Regions from separate parts of the Homo sapiens genome. Here regions 1, 2, 3, 4, 5 and 6 are each linked to region 7. The links are contacts of gene promoters, found by promoter capture Hi-C in blood cells and fetal thymus (Javierre and others, 2016). All regions are on one chromosome and are shown on one strand. The core of a region is centred on a gene start or on the middle of the fragment in contact, and the rest is flanking DNA. Distances in the headings are between cores, read along the strand shown. Region 1 has its middle 12 kb from the start of ILKAP. Region 2 overlaps PER2 (period circadian regulator 2). Region 3 overlaps ILKAP (ILK associated serine/threonine phosphatase). Region 4 overlaps ILKAP (ILK associated serine/threonine phosphatase). Region 5 has its middle 15 kb from the start of TRAF3IP1. Region 6 has its middle 3.6 kb from the start of LINC02610. Region 7 holds the start of RAMP1 (receptor activity modifying protein 1).

The links. The method cuts DNA at HindIII sites, captures the fragments that hold promoters and counts their contacts. A CHiCAGO score of 5 or more calls a contact.
Region 1: a contact is called between a fragment that was not itself captured here and the fragment with the promoter of RAMP1 in region 7, in 1 of 17 cell types (endothelial precursors). The highest score is 5.2, in endothelial precursors.
Region 2: a contact is called between a fragment that was not itself captured here and the fragment with the promoter of RAMP1 in region 7, in 8 of 17 cell types (megakaryocytes, M0 macrophages, endothelial precursors and 5 more). The highest score is 9.6, in megakaryocytes.
Region 3: a fragment that was not itself captured here is called in contact with the fragment with the promoter of RAMP1 in region 7 in 9 of 17 cell types (megakaryocytes, M2 macrophages, M0 macrophages and 6 more); the score reaches 12.0 in megakaryocytes.
Region 4: a fragment that was not itself captured here is called in contact with the fragment with the promoter of RAMP1 in region 7 in 9 of 17 cell types (M2 macrophages, megakaryocytes, M0 macrophages and 6 more); the score reaches 8.9 in M2 macrophages.
Region 5: a contact is called between a fragment that was not itself captured here and the fragment with the promoter of RAMP1 in region 7, in 1 of 17 cell types (M0 macrophages). The highest score is 5.5, in M0 macrophages.
Region 6: a contact is called between a fragment that was not itself captured here and the fragment with the promoter of RAMP1 in region 7, in 8 of 17 cell types (megakaryocytes, M2 macrophages, M1 macrophages and 5 more). The highest score is 10.0, in megakaryocytes.

Annotation. Positions count from the first base shown.
Region 1 is chr2:238,213,882-238,216,600 of GRCh38, reverse strand. No RefSeq gene overlaps it. Among named protein-coding and RNA genes, the nearest start is that of ILKAP, 12 kb to the right of the region's middle. RefSeq lists a silencer at 132-384. The HindIII fragment of the contact is 387 bases long and covers 1,275-1,661 here.
Region 2 is chr2:238,281,601-238,284,396 of GRCh38, reverse strand. The region is part of intron 1 of PER2 (period circadian regulator 2); the gene reads left to right. Among named protein-coding and RNA genes, the nearest start is that of PER2, 5.6 kb to the left of the region's middle. RefSeq lists enhancers at 294-793, 1,641-2,141. The HindIII fragment of the contact is 3,450 bases long and covers 1-2,796 here.
Region 3 is chr2:238,172,778-238,175,477 of GRCh38, reverse strand. It overlaps ILKAP (ILK associated serine/threonine phosphatase), which reads left to right. Exons shown (of 12, transcript NM_030768.3): 10 at 1,825-1,944. Among named protein-coding and RNA genes, the nearest start is that of ERFE, 15 kb to the right of the region's middle. The HindIII fragment of the contact is 8,961 bases long and covers 1-2,700 here.
Region 4 is chr2:238,189,544-238,192,301 of GRCh38, reverse strand. ILKAP (ILK associated serine/threonine phosphatase) reads left to right here. Exons shown (of 12, transcript NM_030768.3): 4 at 2,330-2,449. Among named protein-coding and RNA genes, the nearest start is that of ILKAP, 13 kb to the left of the region's middle. The HindIII fragment of the contact is 4,260 bases long and covers 1-2,758 here.
Region 5 is chr2:238,304,173-238,306,872 of GRCh38, reverse strand. No RefSeq gene overlaps it. Among named protein-coding and RNA genes, the nearest start is that of TRAF3IP1, 15 kb to the left of the region's middle. The HindIII fragment of the contact is 7,227 bases long and covers 1-2,700 here.
Region 6 is chr2:238,233,893-238,236,592 of GRCh38, reverse strand. It overlaps the pseudogene TARDBPP3. Among named protein-coding and RNA genes, the nearest start is that of LINC02610, 3.6 kb to the right of the region's middle. RefSeq lists silencers at 1,780-1,869, 2,020-2,149 and an enhancer at 1,850-2,351. The HindIII fragment of the contact is 6,291 bases long and covers 1-2,700 here.
Region 7 is chr2:237,858,351-237,861,050 of GRCh38, reverse strand. RAMP1 (receptor activity modifying protein 1) reads right to left here and starts at 1,428. Exons shown (of 3, transcript NM_005855.4): 1 at 1,324-1,428. The coding sequence starts at 1,375. RefSeq lists an enhancer at 2,041-2,700. The HindIII fragment of the contact is 3,458 bases long and covers 1-2,700 here.

The DNA.
Region 1 (2,719 bases), core at 219-2,718, 360 kb before region 7:
TGGGCCAGAAGGGAACTCACTGCCTTGAAGGGAAGGACCCAGTCTTGGCAGGATTCATCATCTGCTGATGAAAGAGCCCTTGGAATCTGAATAATCAGCAGTGGTAACCAGGTAGTACAGCCATGGGCCTTGAGTGAGACTCTGAGACATGCTGGTTTCAGCTGTGACCAGGACATTCACAGCTGTGGTGGCTATGAGGAGGGCCCCCTACTGCTTGAGAAAAGCAGAGGGAAGAGTAAAGGGGACTTTCTCTTGAACTTAGGTACCAGTTCAGCTACAATGGGGAAGAGCACCAAGCAGGCTCTTGGGGTCCCTGATTCTAGGCCTTGGCTTGAGATGGCATCTCTGGACCTACCCTGGGCCAGAGGGGAGCCCACTTCCTGAAGGATGAGTTCCAGGGCTGGCAGCATTCACCACAAGCTAACTGAAGAGCCCTTGGGCCTTAAATAAACATCAACGGCAGTACCCTCTGTGGGCCTGTGGTGGTGGTGGACATAAGAAGAGACTCCTCTGCCTGGGGAAGAGTGGGAAGGACTTTGTTTGGTGGTTTTGGCACCAGCTCAGCTGCAGTAGTATAGAGCAACAGTAGATTTCTATGGTTTCTGCTTCCAGACCCTGGATCCCAGGACTCACCTGGGGCCTGGGGGAATTTGCAATCTCAAGGTAAGGACACAAGCCTGGCTTGCATTGCCACCTGCTGATCATAGAGCCCTAGGGCCTTGAGTGAACACAGATGGTAGCTAGGTAGCAGTTATAGCAGGCATCGGGCAAGAACCAGTGCTGTGCCGGCTTCAGGTCTGACCCAGTACACTCCCAGTGGTGGTGGCCACAGGGGTGTTTGTGTTACCTTTCCCCAGCTCCAGGCATCTCAACACAGAGTGAGAGACTTTGTTTGTTTGGGAAAAAGTAAGGGAAGGGAACAAGAGTCTCTACCTGGTAATCCAGGGAATTCCTCCAGATCTTAGATCCTCTACGAGTCTGCAAGAACCACAGTGTTACTGGGCTTGGAGTAGTACCTAATGCAGCTACAGCTGCAGTGACCAAAAACATAGATCACAACACCTAAGTCTCATCAAATACCTGGAAAGCCTCCCCAAGAAGGACAGGTACAAACAAACCCAGAATGCGAAGACTACAATAAATACCTAACTATTCAATGCCTAGACACTGATGAACATCCATAAGCATCAAGACCATCCAGGAAAACATGACCTCACTAAACGAACTAAAAAGGCACCATAGACCAATCCCGGAAAGACAGACATATGTAAGCTTTCAGACAGATAATTCAAAATAGCCATTTTTTAGGAAACTCAAAGAAATTCAGGATAACACAGAAAATGAATTCAGAATCCTATCAGATAAATTTAACAGAGAAGTTGAAACAATTAAAAAGAAGCAGAAATTCTGGAGTTGAAAAATACAGTTGACATACTGAAGAAGGTATCAGAGTCTCTTAATAGCAGAACTGATAAAGCAGAAGAAAGAATTCGTGAGCTTGAATACAAGCTATTTGAAAATACAGTCAGAGGAGACAAAAGAAAAAAGAACGAAACAGAATGAAGAATGCCTTAAAGATCTAGAAAATAGCCTCAAAAGGGCAAATGTCAGAGTTATTGTCCTTAAAGAGGAGGTAGAGAGAGAGATAGGAGTAGAAAGCTTATTCAAAGGGATAATAACAGAGAAATTCCCAAAACTAGAGAAAGATATCAATATTCAAGTATAAGAAGGTTATAGAACACTAAGAAGATTTAACCCAAAGTAGACTACCTCAAGGCATTTAATAATCAAACTCCCAAAGATCAAGGATAAAGAAATGATCCTAAAAACAGCAAGATAAAAGAAAACAAACAACATACAATGAATCTCCAACATGTCCGGCAGCAGACTTTTCAGTGGAAACCTTACAGGCCAGGAGAGAGTGGCATGGTATATTTAAAGTACTGAAGAAAAAAACAAAACAAAACAAAAAAACAACCTTTTACCCTAGAATAGTAAATCTGGTGAAAATATCCTTCAAACACGAAGGAGAAATAAAGACTTTCCCAGACAAAGAAAAGCTGAGGTATTTCATCAACATCAGACCAGTCCTACAAGAAATGCTAAAGAGAGTTCATCAATCCCTTTTGTTGAAAGAAAAGAACAGTAATGAGCAATAAAAAATCATCTGAAGGCACAAAACTCACTGGTAATAAAAGGAAGACAGGGCTGGGTGTGTTGGCTCATGCCTGTAATTCCAGCATTTTGGAGGCCAGAGTGGGAGGACTGCCTGAGTCCAAGAGTTCAAGACTAGCCTGGACAACAAAGCAAGAGCCCATCTCTACGGAAAAATAAAAAAATTAGTCAGATGTGATATCACACACCTGTAGTCCCAGCTACTCAGGTGGTTGAGACAGGAGGGTCACTTGAGCCCAAGAGGTCAAGGCTGCAGTGAGCCATGACTGCACCACTGCACTCCAGTCTGGAAAACAGAGCAAGACTGTCTCCAAAAAAGGGTGTGGGGGAGACAGGAAGGAGGGAAAGAAGGAAGAGAAAACCAAAAGCAGCTAGAACACAACAAAATGGCAGGAGTATGTCCTTACTTATCAATAATAACATTGAATGTAAATAGACTAAACACTCCAATCAAAAGACATAGAGTGGCTGAATGGATTAAAAAACAAGACCAAATGGTCTGTTGCCTACATAAAACACTATTCACCTATAAAGACACACATAG
Region 2 (2,796 bases), core at 90-2,589, 420 kb before region 7:
AATCTTGGCTTACTGCAGCCTCCACCTCCTGGGTTCAAGCAATTCTCCTGTCTCAGCCTCCCAGGTAGCTGGGACTACAGGCACACACCATGACGCCTGGCTAATTTTTGTATTTTTAGTAGAGACGGGTTTCACCATATTGGTCTGGCTGGTTGCGAACTCCTGACCTCGGGTGATCCACCGCCTCAGCCTCCCAAAATGCTGGGATTACAGGTGTGAGCCACCGCGCCCAGCCGCCGTCTGTTTTTCTGTAGTGATTAGCAGTGATAAGCTAATATTACATTCCAGATATCTTGCATGGGTTGTGTCATTTAATCCTTCTAACAACCAGTAGGAGGCAGGAACTACTGTTACCCCATCTCACAAATGAGGACACAAGGCTCAGGGAGGTTAAGGAACTTGTCCGAGATCACATAGGAGGTGGTGGAACCCAGCTGAAACCCAGGCCACCCAGGACCTGTGCCCTTAACCACTCTGCTGCTGCCTCTGATCACCTTAATGACTCACTCAGAGCAGAAAGGACCAGCTGCTTATCTGGGGGAGGGCTGTGGGGATGAGATGGGTGGTGTCCAGGGTGTTGAGGGGTCAGGAGTGAGAGAATGCCCTTGGTACCCTGGGCGGCCCCTTGGCAGCTCCACTGAACCATGGCAAGAGCACCCTGAGAGGTCTCCTTGCTTCCACCTTGCCTCAACCCTGCAACTCCATTGAAGTGTAAGTGAGATCTTGTTGCACAGAACTCTCCACAGTTCCCTATCGGAGTTCTGACTGCCCCCGCAAGGCACTCCGTGATCTGGCCTTGCTGCCGCCCTCCTACCGCTGCCCGCTCTGCTCCAGCCTCGTGCACCTTCCTCAGACAGGTCAGGTGCTTGCCTGCCGCAGGGCCTTTGTGTGTGCTGTCCCCCTGCCTAGAATGTTCTTCCTCTGGTAGCTCACTCTCCACTCTCTTCAGGTCTGCCTTCAGGCTCTCTTGAGAATGGAGTCTGAGGTGAGCACTTTACTGGGAATTGCAGTCCCAGGGTAGCAGTAGAAAAGGAAAAGGGAGGTAAGGAAGAAAAGTCTGGAAAGCACACACAAGACGACACCCTGCTGAGATGAGGCTCTGCCTTACAGAGACATCCAGCTGGGTGCTCACCCCCTTGGGACCTCTTCAGAAAGGCTGTGCCAAAACAGGAAGGAAGGAAAGAAAGACAACTTCAGAAAGGTCCATTTGAGGGAGAGAGGGAGGGGGCATTTTCTGCCAGCTCCTCCTTGCCTCCTGTCCAGCAAGCGAGCTCTCCCTCCTATCCAGCTGCCTCATCAGACCCTTTGGCAGCAGGCAGGACAGTGAGGAGCAGCAAGGGCCCCCACAGTGGTGTGGCACGTCATCCGAGTCCACACAGGGCAGGCAGAGCCAGAGATGCCCAGTGCCAGCCTCAGGTGTGAAGCCAGAAAGACCTGCTGAAGCACGTGGCTGCAAGCCTGAGAGAGCGAAGCCCAGGGACCCTGAGTCAGTTCACACACGAGGGCTCGTGCGCAAGGTCCTTGTCAAATGCCACCTACACCTGGGGCCACCCTCATTGAAATGTCACTCCCAGCCCCTCAATTCCCACTTGCTAGTTGCCTACTCTACTGTATATTCTAGTTTCTTGTTTATTGTCTGTTTCCCCCTAATGTAAGCTCCCTGAGGGCAGGAAAGATGTCTGCTCTGTTGTCTGCCCCAGTGCCAGCCCTCAGTGCTAAGCGAATAAGGGCAAGTCAGTCAGTGGGAAACTGCTGGCACCGGGCAGGCCCTGCCTGAGTGCCATCTGTCCTTTTTATTGTTGTTGTTATTTATTGTTCTTGGACTTGTTCATCTATGTCTGAGACTCTCCCCACATCAGTCTTTCTGGCCTCTATCCTTTTAGTGGGTGTATAGTATTCATAGTATGGATGTCCCAGGTTTGTGTCTTCAACAGTACGTGCCAGGCCCTGGGGATCCAGCATTGACCAACGCAAACCCCTGCCCCCATGGAGCTTAGGTCCCAGAGGGGAGGCAGGCAGTAAACAGCCCAGCCCCTCAGTGCTGGCGAGGAAAGCCCACAGAGCGGCGGTGGAGGCACAGAGAAGGAGCTGGTGGGGAGACGGTGCTGTTCATGCAGGCTGCCCAGGCATCTGCAAGAAGAGGGCTGTGGGCACGAGGGAGCAGCAAGTGCAGAGTCTCTGTGGTCAGAGCACACAGGGCTGGGGCTGAGGGGTGGGCAGTTAACAGGACATGCCCAGGAGATTGCAGGAGCTAGACTTGCAGAGCCTTTGGCCCTTGTGCACACTAGAATTGTGCTCTGAGCAAGGGTCTGAGCACGGGCCGGGCGTAAGCTAAGCCCCTTCACCAGGATCGCTCTAGATGCTGTGTTAACCATAGCAGGGCCAGGTGGAGGCAGGGGACCAGTCTGGAATTGGAGGCTGGCTCCTGGCCAGGATGATCGTGGACAGGATGCGTAGCCTCCCTGTTGATGGTTCTTCCCAGGTTTTTATATTCAGTGCTCACACATCTCTGAGCACATAAATAAGCACTTCTCTGCAATGGATTCCTGGAGGTGGGAAGAGTATGCAGATTATAAATGTTGCTGGGAACTCAAATTTCTCTCCAGAAATACCCTATTACTACACCACCACACACAAGAGCCACTCTTCTCCACCTGAGCAACGCTGAGTGTGATCAGTCCTGTTAATTTTTGGCAACCTGATGGGCAAGATAACCTCGTCCTTTGCATTTTCCTGATGCTAATGAGGTTGAGCCTCTTTCTACAAGTTCACAAATCTTTTGGTGTCTCTCTTTGT
Region 3 (2,700 bases), core at 65-2,564, 310 kb before region 7:
TCATTCTGTCCATTGTGCTTTCTCCTGTTACTCTAGCAGTTCAGTGAATGTAAGATTACTACTCTGTATATGGAACTTTGAAAACAAGAATGAGGCCACATTACGCCTGTAATCTCAGCACTTTGGGAGGCTGAGGTGGGAGGACTGCTTGAGGCTAATTGTTTAAGGACCAGCCTGGGCAACACCCCATCTGTACAAAAAAAATTTTTTTTTTATTTACCTGGACTTGGTGACACCTGTAGTTCTAGCTACTCAGGAGGCTGAGGTGGGAGGATCACTTGAGCCCAGCGAGTGATTGCACCACTGCCCTCCAGCCTGGGCAACAGAGGGAGACCCTGTCTCTTAAAAAAAAAAAGAGAGAATGAGAGATGGCAGTTCCTGTGCTGCTCATATTGTCCTTCTTTAGACTTAGAGATTGTTTCACATTGTCTGTACTGTGTTGTGCAGTACCAGAAGTTGCTGGTAGCTACTTGGTCTTCTGGGACCTGCCATTGCAGACGTGGTGATTGTAATCTTAATCTTGTTGAAACAGGATGGATTTATGACTGGGATGGCCGGAAGCCACACCAGACACCCAGTCACCTGGTCATGGGAGAGGTACTTTGTTGGCTTTTCATAGTACTTACACTGTGAGCTGCTTCCTGAAGTGGCACTCTTAAGGCCAGGTGCCCCCACCCATCTTCAGTCCTCAGCTCTTCCCCTGTGCACTGTTTCCTCTTGCTATTTAACAGTTTGTATCCTAGAAGATCGCTAGGCTTTTTGCAGATACCAGCAGAAGTCTTTGAAGAAGAAAAAACATGTTTGTTACGGATACTGACCTGTGAGCCACTGAGAGGGTAACTGGGGCCCAGAGAAGGGCCAGGCTGAATTCTGCCTTTAGGACAGCAGCCCAGGAAGCATTTCCTACCATGTGCAGCCATCTGCACCGCATCTCCTGAACTTGCTTGGTCCATGATTTGGGAGCCCCGTGGTGATCTTAAACGCCCATGCGCAGCCGTGGCATTTGCGGAGTGCTCTCTCACACGTTGAGTATGGTTCTCTGCCTTGCCTTTACAAACAAGGGCCTGAAGGGGAGAGAGCTTGCAGCTGCCTAAGGTGACAGTGCTGCAGCCTAGACCAGAATTGTTCTTTGGGGCAGTAGGCTTCCCCAAATGGTTTTTCCTTGGCAATAGGACTGTCCCTTAGATGTCTCTTCCCATTTGTAGATCACTGCCCCATCTCCTCCATATCCCCTCACCTAAAATAGAATGGGTGAAACTATGATGCTATGCAGGATACTGTCATTTACATTAACATTAAACCGTACCTGTACTTGATGCAAAGGACATGTGCTCCACAATCCAGGAATAGCCACTTTCAGGGATTTTCCAAATCTAATTAGATTGAAATGCAAAATATCCCTCTGTTCTAGCTATTGTTAACCCTGGCTGCATGTGGGAAACACTCAAGGAGCTTTAAGATACAAAACACTGCCAGGCTCCCTTACCCAGTCAGTCAAATCCGATTCTGGAGTTGGGACCTAGGTGTGTGATGAGAACTGCTGAGTCCTGTCGAAGGTTAAGCTGGGCAGCACTGCTTGGCAGCCACTGGAGGTGCTGTTCCCACCCATGTGCAGCTGGGCAGGGTCCCTACCCCAGGGCAGCAGTTAATGGCCTAGACACCCCTGCATATTTGAGATCAAGAAATGTCAGTAGTGGTTAATAATGTGAATTCCACAGTCTGTATCTTTCACACTTCCATTCTCTGCTTTTAAGGTGAGATTCTAAGTACTGTGGACCCATAATCTGTCAGGTAGAGTCTGAAATGTTTTTCCTCTCATTTTAGGGATGGGCGTGTTTTGGGCGTGCTAGAGGTGTCACGCTCCATTGGGGACGGGCAGTACAAGCGCTGCGGTGTCACCTCTGTGCCCGACATCAGACGCTGCCAGCTGACCCCCAATGACAGGTAAAAGGCCCTATAAGAGGCACAGGTGTGTGTGCATGTGGGTTTATTTCTCTTCCTCACTTCCAGTTTCTATCAAGCCTTTGTTGGAGGGAAGGTGTGCATGGTGCTAGGCCCTGGGGGTGCAGAGATAAACAAAATGTGGTTTCTGCTCTGGTGGGGTCCACAGTGGTAGGGGGGGACACATGGGGATGGGCAGCTGCAGTCCAGTGTGTCCTAGGCATGTGCTGTGTGCTGGGGTCTTTGGCAGTAGGGGAAGGGGTTATCCCTGTCAGAGAGAGGAGAAGGGGCTTCCTGGCAGAGGGAACACACAGTAAGGCATTAAAATGTGACAGTGTGAAAGCATGGCCAGACAGGCGCTTGAGGGACGGAGGGAGTGGTGGGAAAGTGATAGCAGGGTACTTTGGGGGCAGATCCTGAAGGGCCGGCCCTCAGCCCCATGCTGGAGAGTTTGAACTTTAGTTGATCATTGGTGGAGAATCATAGGTTTTTACACAGAGCCAGGATCGGTTGAGAAAGAGACAGTTCACCTGTTCATCTCCTGTTCTCCATGCCTAAGGGTACGGCACCGTGCTGGCTGAGGGCAGGGCCTCAACAGGTGATGGTTAAAGATGGCATTATGGGGCTAGGGAGGCCTGTGAGCAGCGGTGCAGCAGCCCTGGCCTGATGATGAAGGGCTGAACTAAGGCAGTAGCAGGAGGGGTCAAGGAAAGCTCCCGGAAGCAGGATTCACAGCACTGAGTTGATGAGGGGAGGCCA
Region 4 (2,758 bases), core at 97-2,596, 330 kb before region 7:
TAATTTGCTTAGAAGTCAATAACAAACCTGTAAGGTGTCTTTATTTTGAAATTTTATTATTTTTCTTTTTTTCTTTTTCTTTTTCTTTTTTTTTTTTTAAGACAGTCTCACTCTGTTGGCAGGCTGGAGTGCAGTGTTGCGATCTCAGCTCACTGCAACCTCTACTTCCCGGGTTCAAGTTCCTGTCTAAGCCTCCCGAGTAGCTGGGACTATAGGCACCTGCCACCACACCCAGCTAATTTTTTGTATTTTCAGTAGAGACGGGGTTTCACCATGTTGGCCAGGATGGTCTCAATCTCTTGACCTCATGATCCGCCTGCCTCTGCCTCCCAAAGTGCTGGGATTACAGGCATGAGCCGCTGCGCCTGGCCTTTTTCTTTTTCTTTTTTTTTTTTTTGAGATGGAGCCTTGCTCTGTTGCCTAGGCTGGAGCGCAGTGGCGAGATCTCAGCTCACTGCAGCCTCCGCCTCCTGGGTTCCAGTGAGTCTCGTGCCTCAGCCTCCCGAGTAGCTGGGATTACAGGCGCTACCATGCCCGGCTAATTTTTTGTATTTTAATTAGAGACCGGGTTTCGCCATGTTGGTCAGGCTTGTCTTGACCTTCTGACCTTAGATGATCTGCCCATCTCAGCCTCCCAAAGTGCTGGGATGACAGGTGTGAACCACCACACCTGGCCATCTGTTTTGGAATTTTAAAGGAAGAAAGTTTCACATCCATATGGGGAAAACTGGAACCCATACAGTAAGCCACAGGACACTAATGGGGACCTTTGGGAGAGATACTGTTGGAAACATCTGTGTTGCCTTATGCAGGGTGCATATGTGTATTATGTTATACTGTTGCAGAAATAGGGCCTTGTGCAACTAATTTACGCTTCTTGAGGGCAGGAACATTTTCATTACTTTTTCCTCAGCACTAAGAAATGTCTGACACAGGCGGTTCAAGACCAACCTACCCAACATGGTGAAACTCCGTCTCTACTAAAAATACAAAAATACAAAAATTAGCTGGGTGTGATGGTGCACTCCTGTAGGCTGAGACAGGAGAATTGCTTGAACCCTGGAGGTGGAGGTTGTAGTGAGCTGACGTTGCGTCACTGCACTCGAGCCTGGGCGACAGAGTAGACTCCGTCTCAAAAAAAAAAAAAAGACACCTTGTGTTTACCAAAAAAATTAAAAAATTAGCCGGGTGTAGTGGTTCCTGCTTTCAGTCCCAGCTGCTCAGGAGGCTGAGATGGAAGGATCACTTGAACACAGGAGTTGGAGGCTGCAGTAAACTGTGATCATGCCACTGCATTCTAGTCTGTGTGACAGAATGAGACCCTGTGTCAAAAACAAAAAGAAGAAGAAATGTCTGGCAAAGAGTAGGTTGAGTAAGTAAATAAGTACTTGCATCCTTTTTTTTTTTTTTTTTTTTTTTTTTTTAAAGAGAAACGTCTTACTACTTTGCCCAGGCAGGTCTCAAATGCCTGGGCTGAAGTGATCCTTCTGCCTCAGTCTCCAGAAGTAGCTGTGACTGCAGGCATGTGCCACTGCATCTGGCTGTTGCATACTTTTATACCTAAATGCAGAGAACATTTCAAGTCATTTATTAGGACAGCAGCTGCCCTTATTGGAGATTGATGTGTTAGGCACTGTGACAAATGCTCTTCCTACTTGTCCTGACCCATTTTCAAACATCCCTCTGAGATGACAGTATTCTTACCATGTTACGCACGGGTGAAGACAGCTGAGACTGAAAGATTAAGTTGCACACCTCTTTGAAACTTGACTTTTCTCATTTCAAACACATACACTGCAGATTCCCTTAGCTTTGAGTACAGATTCATCCTTTTGCTAGTGGGAACAGCTGTGGCAGCCTTATTTTGCCTTTGAAAGGATGTATTACAGTTCTTAAAGGCTGCCATTTACCTCATTTTGAGCCTTTTCGAGTACTTGTTACTTTTTGGAACGTGATTAGGATATGTTAGTTTGCTTACAGATTTTGTAAGTGTTTGTTTAACACTAAGAGCCTGTGGATATAAAAACATGTATATGCTACAGGCCAAAAAAAACCATGTATTTTTACCACTGGGAAAAGTCTTTTACAAACCCCTTCAGCAGGGTCAGTTTGACTCAGGGCCTGGATCTTAACTTTATGTTCTCTCACTGTGGGACCCCCCTCCCCCTCCCCGCCAACCATGAAGACACAACTCCTGGGTCTGCCTGTGTCTGCCAGTCCTTGCTTCAAATGACCTTGTCTTTGAGTGCTAGGATGAAGCCCAGTCTACTAGTGACTTTTTCCAACAGTCTACAGCTGTGTTTCTGTCTGGCTTTTACTTTATTTCCAGGTTCTCTTGCCACATCAATATCCCAGATGGTAAAGACTGAAGGGAAAGGAGCAAAGAGAAAAACCTCCGAGGAAGAGAAGAATGGCAGTGAAGAGCTTGTGGAAAAGAAAGTTTGTAAAGGTTTTCAGACAATTTGAAAACAAATGTATTAGACTTCATATTTTAAAACAACCCAGAGCAAAACCAGTTTCAGCTTTCTAATAATACTTTCTTTTTATGTCTGTATTTAAGAAATAAGTAGGGTTCCCTTTTTGCAAATGAATTTCCAAGTTTCTCTGTGCTTTCTCCTACTTTTCATGTACATCTATCTCTGATCCTACCTTTGATCAGATAGGAAACCTACATTTGTTCCTCAAGAGTTAAAAAATACAGGTGGTTTTTTTCTTAGCCTTCTGCAGTGAATGGTTAGTTTTTTGACCACCTAGTCTC
Region 5 (2,700 bases), core at 104-2,603, 450 kb before region 7:
GCACCCTAGCAGAGCGGAAGACACCAAGCGGTGATCACACCACTAGAGCTGCCTGCCTTGAGCCGGGCTCTGCCAGGGCCTCCAGGGCATAGGTCAGGCATGCTCGACAGAAATCTATGATAAGATGAAAGGGCACATCCAGCACTGGGCTTATGCAGGGCCAGAGCCACAGATAAACTGCACAAGACCCTCCTATCATCTGCCTCTGTTGCACCACTGGAGGTCCCTCACCTTCATCACTGCTGTGTTGGGTGGCGGTGTCACTTATGACCACCTAGTGGAGGAAGAAATAGGCCGAGCTTGGTTCATGCATGGGTTGGCTCAGTGTGGGATGCAAAAAATGCCTAAAAATAGATAGCTGCTGCACTGCAGCCTCACTCCGGGGCCTCCCTGAAAGGCAGTGCTGACAGACTGCCTCTCCCAATCTCCCCATGGACAGAAACTTGGTGTATTAGTTCATTGTTGCTGCTGTAACCAATTTCCAAAAACTTGGGAGTTTAAAACAACACAAATGGAATCTCTTACAATTCTGGAGGTCAGAGCTGAAACTGGGTGTTACTGGGCTGAAGTCAAGGTGTGGTCAGGGCTGTAATCCTTCTGGAGGCTCTAGGGGAGAATCCATTTCTTCTCCTTTTTCAGCTTCTAGAAGCTACCTGCATTCTCTGGCTCATGCACCCTTTCCAGAAACGACATCATTTTAACGTCTGTTTCTATGGCCACGCCTTCTTCTCGGACTTTGGCCCTCCTGGCTCCCTCTTCCACTTTTTTTTTTTTTTTTTTTTTTGAGATGGAATTTCGCTCTGTTGCCCAGGCTGGAGTGCGATTGTGCGATCTTGGCTCACTGCAACCTCCACCTCCTGGGTTCAAGTGATTCTCTTGCCTCAGCCTCCCGAGCAGCTGGGATTACAGGTGCCCGCCACCAGGCCCAGCTAATTTTTTTTGTATTTTTAGTAGAGAGAGGGTTTCACCATGTTGGTCAGGCTGGTCTCGAACTCCTGACCTCAGGTGATCCACCCGCCTCAGCCTCTGAAAGTGCTAGGGTTACAGGCGTGAGCCACCACACCCGGCCTCCCTCTTTCACTTATAAGGACATTTATGATTACATTGGGCCACCCAGATAATCCAGGATAATGTTCCCATCTCAAGATCCTCAATGTAATGACATCTGCAAAGTCCCTTTTACCCTGTACCAAAACAGATGTACAGGTTCCAGACATGGGCGTGTGTGGGGGCCCACCGTTCTGCCCACCATGCTTAGGCAGTACACGTAGCTCTCCATTTTGTGTAGAAAGAGAAGTGGCTTGGCATAAGAATATGTTCAGACCCATGGACAGCGGCAAAAGACGGCTGTTGCTGCTCTGGGCCTGGAAAATTCAAAGGTTGGGGACCAGGAGTTTAGTGGAAGGGTCATGCATGCAGCTAGGACCATGGGAGTGGACAGGCATGTGAAGGTCTCTGTATCCCTGCTAACAGCCACCAGAGAGCACCACCATGGAAAAGGCACCCAGCAGCCATGTAGGAAGATGCTTTGGCCGTTCGGAGTCAGCCTGCCTCTGTCATAGGCCATTCAGTGAGTAGCAGTGGTGGCAGGGTTGCAGGATGGTGTGGGCCTGACAGTATGGCCTCCAACTCGCCAAGGCTGAGTTAGTTCCAGCAACTGCTAAACATCCAGCTTAACAGCAAGACACCAAAGCTGAGCTCCCAGCAGAGTGCCACCGGGAGGAACTCAACTGGCCACTAGGTGGAAGGTTGATTACATTGGACTTAAACTCAATTATATTGCCCTAAAGGTGAGGCAGTGATTCATTTTGACTGACCCAAAGTGTGGATTTGGATATCCCAAGTGTGGATTTGTCTTTCCTGCCCTTACGAACACTATCTGGAGGTTTATAAAATGTTTGATCGATGGATATAGAATACCACATAACATTGCTTTGGACCAAAAAGACTCACTTTACAGCAAAGGATCTATGGTGTTGGGTACATGACCGTGGGCTCCACTGGGCCCATTCCTTACCATGCCGTTCAGATGCTGCCAATCTGGGTGAGTGATGGAGTGGTCCTCTTGTTAGCTCTGCTGAGGAGAAAATACCCTTTGAGGATGGGATTCCATCCTTTAAGACACAAAATATACCCTAAATCAGTGACCATCATAAATTGCTGTCTCCAGCTGATGAAAGGCATGGGTCTGGGAACCCAGGAGCAGAAGCAGGAACAGCCCCCAACCATGACCTCCAGGGATCCAGTTGGTGAATTTGAACTTCTCGTCCCCTCCATGTTGTGCTTTGCAGGTCTAGAGGCCTGTTCTCTAGAGGGGGAACACTGCCACCAGGGGATCCAGTGGACAATAAGCGATGGCTGTCACTGGTCACTCAGGCTCTGTGCCAAAAGACGAGCAAGCAAGGAAAGGAGTCGGTGTCCCAGCAGGGGTGACTGGCTCTGATCCTCAAGAGCAGGAAGGGCTGCTGGAACCGGGGTGGAGGAGAATCACCCTGGCACACAGCTGGCTTCTGGGGCATCACTTGGCACGCTCCTGCCCAGTTTTGGTGGGAAATGGACAAGCACAGCAGTTGCAGCCTGAAGAGCGTGTAGTGGCTGGGATGAGGGTTTGTGTCCTCCTGCCAGGTGGGTGCCCAAGCGCAGCAGAGGTGCTAGCAGAGGAAGTGGGGAATCCAGACTGAGCAGTAGATGACAAAAATC
Region 6 (2,700 bases), core at 52-2,551, 380 kb before region 7:
CTTCTCTGAGGGCTGTCTCCTTCCCACCCGGATCCCTGACCCACTGTATTACTTTTCTATGGCTGCCAAAACCAACGACCACACTCTTGGTGGCTTCAAACACACGATTATTGTCTTGCAGTTCCACGGGTTAGAAGTCTGTCAGGATTCACTGGGCTAAGATCAAGGTGTTGGCAGGCAGGGCTGTGTGCCTTCTCCTGCCTCTTCATTCAGGGGCCACCCACATTCCTTGGAGGATGGTCCCTTCCTCCATCCTCAGAGTTCCTCGGAAGCATTGCGTCTCTCTGACCCTTCTTCCTTGGTCACGTCTCCTCCTTACTTCTACTTTTAAAGATCCTTGTGATGACACCAGCCCCCTGGAGAATCCAGGATAATCTCCCTGTATGAAGGTCTTTAGCTTAATTCTTAATCACATTTGCAAACTCCCTTTTGCCATGTAAAGTAGCATATTCGCAGGTTCTGGGAACTAGGATGTGGTCATGAAGGACATTCTCTGTGACACCTGCCTGCACCCTGGCCCAGGCGTTCTGCCTTCCATCATGAAGCAGTGTGGCGCCCGCTTCCGACATGGGCATGGGCCCCCATCCCTGCTCACCTGCTCAGGGACTCTGCTCTCCACTGCACCATTAGCTTCTCCTCCCTTCTGGATCATTCTCATTAACCTACAAACGGGCTGTAATATGAATACCTTTACTCGGAAGAACCTCCCTGGATGTGACATACTGTTAGCCTCTGTCTCAATGCTCTAAAGCAAAATTCCTTGAAAGCGTCATCTACACTTACTGCCTCCACTTCCACGCATCCCATTCCTCTTCATTCCTTTCCAATCAAGCTATTGTCCACCCTTCCACTGGAACTGCACAGTCAAAATCTCTAGTAACGAGCATGTTTCCCAACCCAGTGGGCATGTCCGCATGTCAGCTTCACTTCTCGTGGGTTATGACTCATCCATCTGGAGGCTCCTTCTCCAGTCTCAAGGGCACCACACCAGCCTTCTTTCTACCTCATCGGCCATCCTCAGTCCCCTGTACTCAATGCTCCTCCCTGCCGACCTCCAACTGGACGTGTTCTTCCCAAGGCTCTGTCCTCAGCCTTCCCTGCCGCCCTCCAACTGGACGTGTTCTTCCCAAGGCTCTGTCCTCAGCCTTCCCTGCCGCCCCCACACCCAGTGACACCATCTGGCCCGTTTTGCCAATCCCATGCCCTTGATTCAAAGCCCCTCTCCAGGCGGCTGGCTCCTCTGTATCCTCCTGTCCACTCAGTGACTGCACTTAGATGTCAGATGGGCTCACACCACCACCAAAACAACAGATCCTCAGGCATTACCACTTCTTGGTACCCCATGGATTGAGCAAAAAAATCTAGATGTCACCCTCAAGTTCACCCTCTTCCTGCCATCCCACGTCCTATCAGTCAAGCCCATGAGCACTACTTCTTCTTCTTTTTTATTTTTATTTATTAATTTATTATTATTATTATTATTTTGAGACGGAGTCTCACTCTGTCGCCCAGGCTGGAGTGCAGTGGGGGAGATCTAGGCTCACTGCAACCTCCGCCTCCTGGGTTCAAGCAATTCTCCTGCCTCAGCCTCCCAAGTAGCTGGGACTACAGGCGCCAGCCACCACGCTCGGCTAATTTTTTCTATTTTTAGTAGAGACGGGGTTTCACCGTGTTAGCCAGGATGGTCTCGATCGCCTGACCTCGTGATCTGCCCGCCTAGGCCTCCCAAAGTGCTGGGATTACAGGCGTGAGCCACCAAGCCCGGCGGAGCTCTACTTCTAAGCCCTGCCTCCACGTGTCGTCTTCTTTGCCACCGACCGAGTCCAAGGCAGCCTCGTTTCTAACCTGGGCCTCCGCAGCAGGCCTCTGACTCCCCTCCCACTCCAGTCCTGACCGTGACCTTCAAGACTCTACCCGGTTCAGCACCGCCGCCCCCCGGGGCTCCTCCCTTCCAGCCCTCCCTACGCTCTGCTCAGGCCTCTGCAAGTGACCCGAGAGCCAGGACCCGGACGGTCTCGATCAGCCAGTCGCCCAGCCCTTGAGCCCTTCCGGGACTGCCCGGAGCCGGCGCTGGGGAATACCGAGTCCCTTGGAGCCGGGTTCGGGGGGCGCCGTGAGCTGGGAGGCGCTCGGAGGAGCCGAGGCCTTGACCACGCCCCCTCCAGCCCCGCCCCGCCAGAGGCGAGCCGCGGGGCCTCCTGGGAGATGTAGTTCCGACCCCTTTACTTAGATTTTTGGTTTTTTTTTTTTAAATCAGTTTTATTTAAGAATTTCCAACAATGACAACTCTTATAAAAAGCATCCAAGCACAGGACACAGAACTGCAGCAAACAGCATTCTTATGGGTAGCTAACAGACATTAGAACTTCTACCCTTCTTTGAGACACCAGAGTTCACTGCTGAACTCTGCTTCCAAGTCCTCCTGCAAAGCACACCACAAGCTCAGTCCATGTTCTCAGCCCATCAGCTTCAGTTCACATTGCCACACTTACATATCAGTAACAGAAGAGAACACACACCATACAGCATTCACAGCAGTTGACAAAGGGGTAGGGGGAGTACAAGTATCATTTCACTTAACACATTCAAATAAAGTGGGTTATCTAAGAACAAAAACTCAAAGTCTTCCAACAGATGTGGATGTCCTTTGAATGCAAAAAACATTCGTACATTATTTGCTATCATTGCTGTCTGCACACT
Region 7 (2,700 bases), core at 179-2,678:
GTTTCTTAGTAAATGAAAACAGTGAAGGCCATGTCAAGCCAAATGGAGAGAATAAAATTACTGCGAGATTCTGCTTTCCACGTAACTTCAGCCAAAACTCTAAAGTGGCAAGATCCGCTTTCAGATTATATTATATCGGCCTCTGAGGATTCTATGCAGATCTGCCACCCCTTGGAGAGGTTTACAAATAGGGAACAGAAATCCATGGCTCCCAAGAAGCCCTGGCCCCTCTCCTCGCTGGGCCACGAACCACTCCCCCAGCTACAACAGCGCCGGTGGTCCCTGCTTGCCCAGTGCCAGCGCCAAAGAGGTCTTGTGCGGCAGGTGCCTCTGACCAACATCACTGTTTCCGGGGAAAGGCCACACATACCAGAAACAACTGCTCCGGCCTTCCCAGGGACACTGGGTTCTCCCACGCCAGTAACCTATTCACAGTTTCCGTTAAAAGGTAGCTAAATACACGGAATAATGCAATAGCCAAAGCGGTTTAGAAGGGGCTTGAGTTAGCATTTTAGGAACACATTACAGACAAGGGAAGTGAACAGCACCGTTTCTTGCCGAGTGTGTGGCCAGTTCCTGTGGCCATGAGGCTGCCGCTAATCTCCACTTCTCCCTCCAAGTGGAAAGCCAAACGTGTTCCACCACTTCACCAAGGGACCCGTCCTTCTTTAAATTTCTATTAGCCAAAAGTGCCAAGTTAACAAGCAAACCAAAAGAAAAAAGAAAAAAAGCGATGGAAGTGTCCCGAAAAGGGCTGGCCTCATTTCTGCAAAAGACGTGATTTGCAAACAAGCAACTGCTGCAGGCGACAGATTGTCAGTGTTGACTAATTTCCATACAAACCGGCTGTGGTTCTGATTCCCGAACACTGCGTCTTCTGCAAGGTGCCCGTCTGCAGGTTTTGCAACGCGGGACGGCCTAGGGAAGGGAGCCTGCGCTGGCAGTCACCGCGGCGCACAGCCTGAGAAACGAGGTGCGGGGCTGGGGAACCCCGCGTCCTGTTTTTCCTTCTGAAAACTAGTTCTCCAGTGTGCAGGGCTGACTCACCCCACGCTTTCCAGAATGCCCGCTCTCCGACGTCCCCAAAGCCGTCCCTTCCCCGGCGAGAAGCGCAACACCGGTCCGCGCCCTCCGCCTCCCCTGTGCCCTGGGGCCTCCCGCCTGGAACCGGGGCGGCCCGCGTTCAAGGGCAGCGGATCTGTGCGCCCGCGGCGCCCGCCCCCACCCGCTCCCACCCGCTCCCACCCGCTCCCCTCCTCTCCCCTAGAGGACACCGGCTGGCCAGGGGAAGGGAGCTCGGCCGGGACCCCTGGACCTACTCACCCAGGAGCAGCCAGAGGCCGCGCCGCGGGAGGCGGCACAGGGCCCGGGCCATGGTGCACAGCGGTGCCGAGTCGAGTCCGCTCGCCACGCGCCCCGCTGAGGACTGAGCCCGCCGCGGCGCGGGCCCGGAGGAGACGCGCCGGGGGCGGGAGCGGGCGCGGGAGCGGTGGGAGGCGGCGGCCGCGCGGCCCGGCCCACTGCGGCTCCCCGCGTGGGTGCCAGGGCCGGGGGCGCCCAGGGCCGGTAAAACTTTGCAGGGGGGCCGCGCGGGCGTCTCCAGGCCCCTCCCGGGGGGCGGCACACTTGGGGTCCCAGGAAGGCCTCCTGAAATGTTCTCCGAGCAAATAAACACTTTTTAAACTAGGGAGGGTCTCCTAGACGACTCAGCGTGAGGGGCACCTTGGTCTCCACCTGGGGATCTTCCCCTCCTCCTCCTCCGAGGTTCTGGGCGTTCCTGCCTGGTGTTTGCCTTGCAAAAGGCTAAGATCTCCCAGCCTTATCTACCTCTCCGCCCAGGTGCAGGCGCTGGGGAGCGTGGGGGGCAAAACTCGCCACCGCGCCTGGCGAGACCCGTAGTAACCCAAAATGGCGCACACTTACCAGGCCCTGGAATGCTGCTCCAGATCTGCAGGATGAGTGGGTGGGCAGAGGCGGGGACAGCACGGCAGGTGAACAGAAGCCGTGGGGCTGGAGGAACAGGGCTCTTTGGGGGGATTGAGATGGCCTGGGAGTCTTGCTGTTGATGGGTAGGTAGCGAGAGCCTGGCAGGAGGTTGTGAGGGCCTGGCCACAGAGTCTTGAGATGAGGTTTGCTTTGGTGGCACTCTGGCAGCTGCATGGAAAACTGATGGGGGATCTTGGGTACATTCGTTTATGTAAAGTGGTGAGAGGAGGGCGCTCTGGAGATGGGCCGGGGAAGCCTGCGGAGGAGCAGGTTTTGGGAGGCACAGGCCTGGCCTCTCGGCATTACTGGTGGCTGGATTTCACTTGCAGTGGTTCCTTCTTGTATTATCCTGTTCCGAGAACTCTTAGCAACAGTAAATTTATACTTGTGCTAAGGAATGCACCACTGCCCTTGGAGGGGGAAGAATCACCACCCTGGTGCTGCGGCCACAGCTGTCTCTTTTGTGGTGGAAGCTGCAAGCGCACAGCATTGCTGAGTGACCATCGTTTTCTCCTAGGAAAGGGAACAGTCTGTGGCTGAGAGGCTGCTGCCACCTGCAGTAAGCTCAGAGAAGGGGAGACAGCTGACAGCGAGGTCATCCACTGGTTCTTCTAACACAGGCTGGGAGGGCACTCAGGGCCAGCATGCCTACCACCTGTGCAGGGGCCCCAAGTGTTCTGAGAGTGAGGGGTGAGATGGTGGGGGAGGGCACAC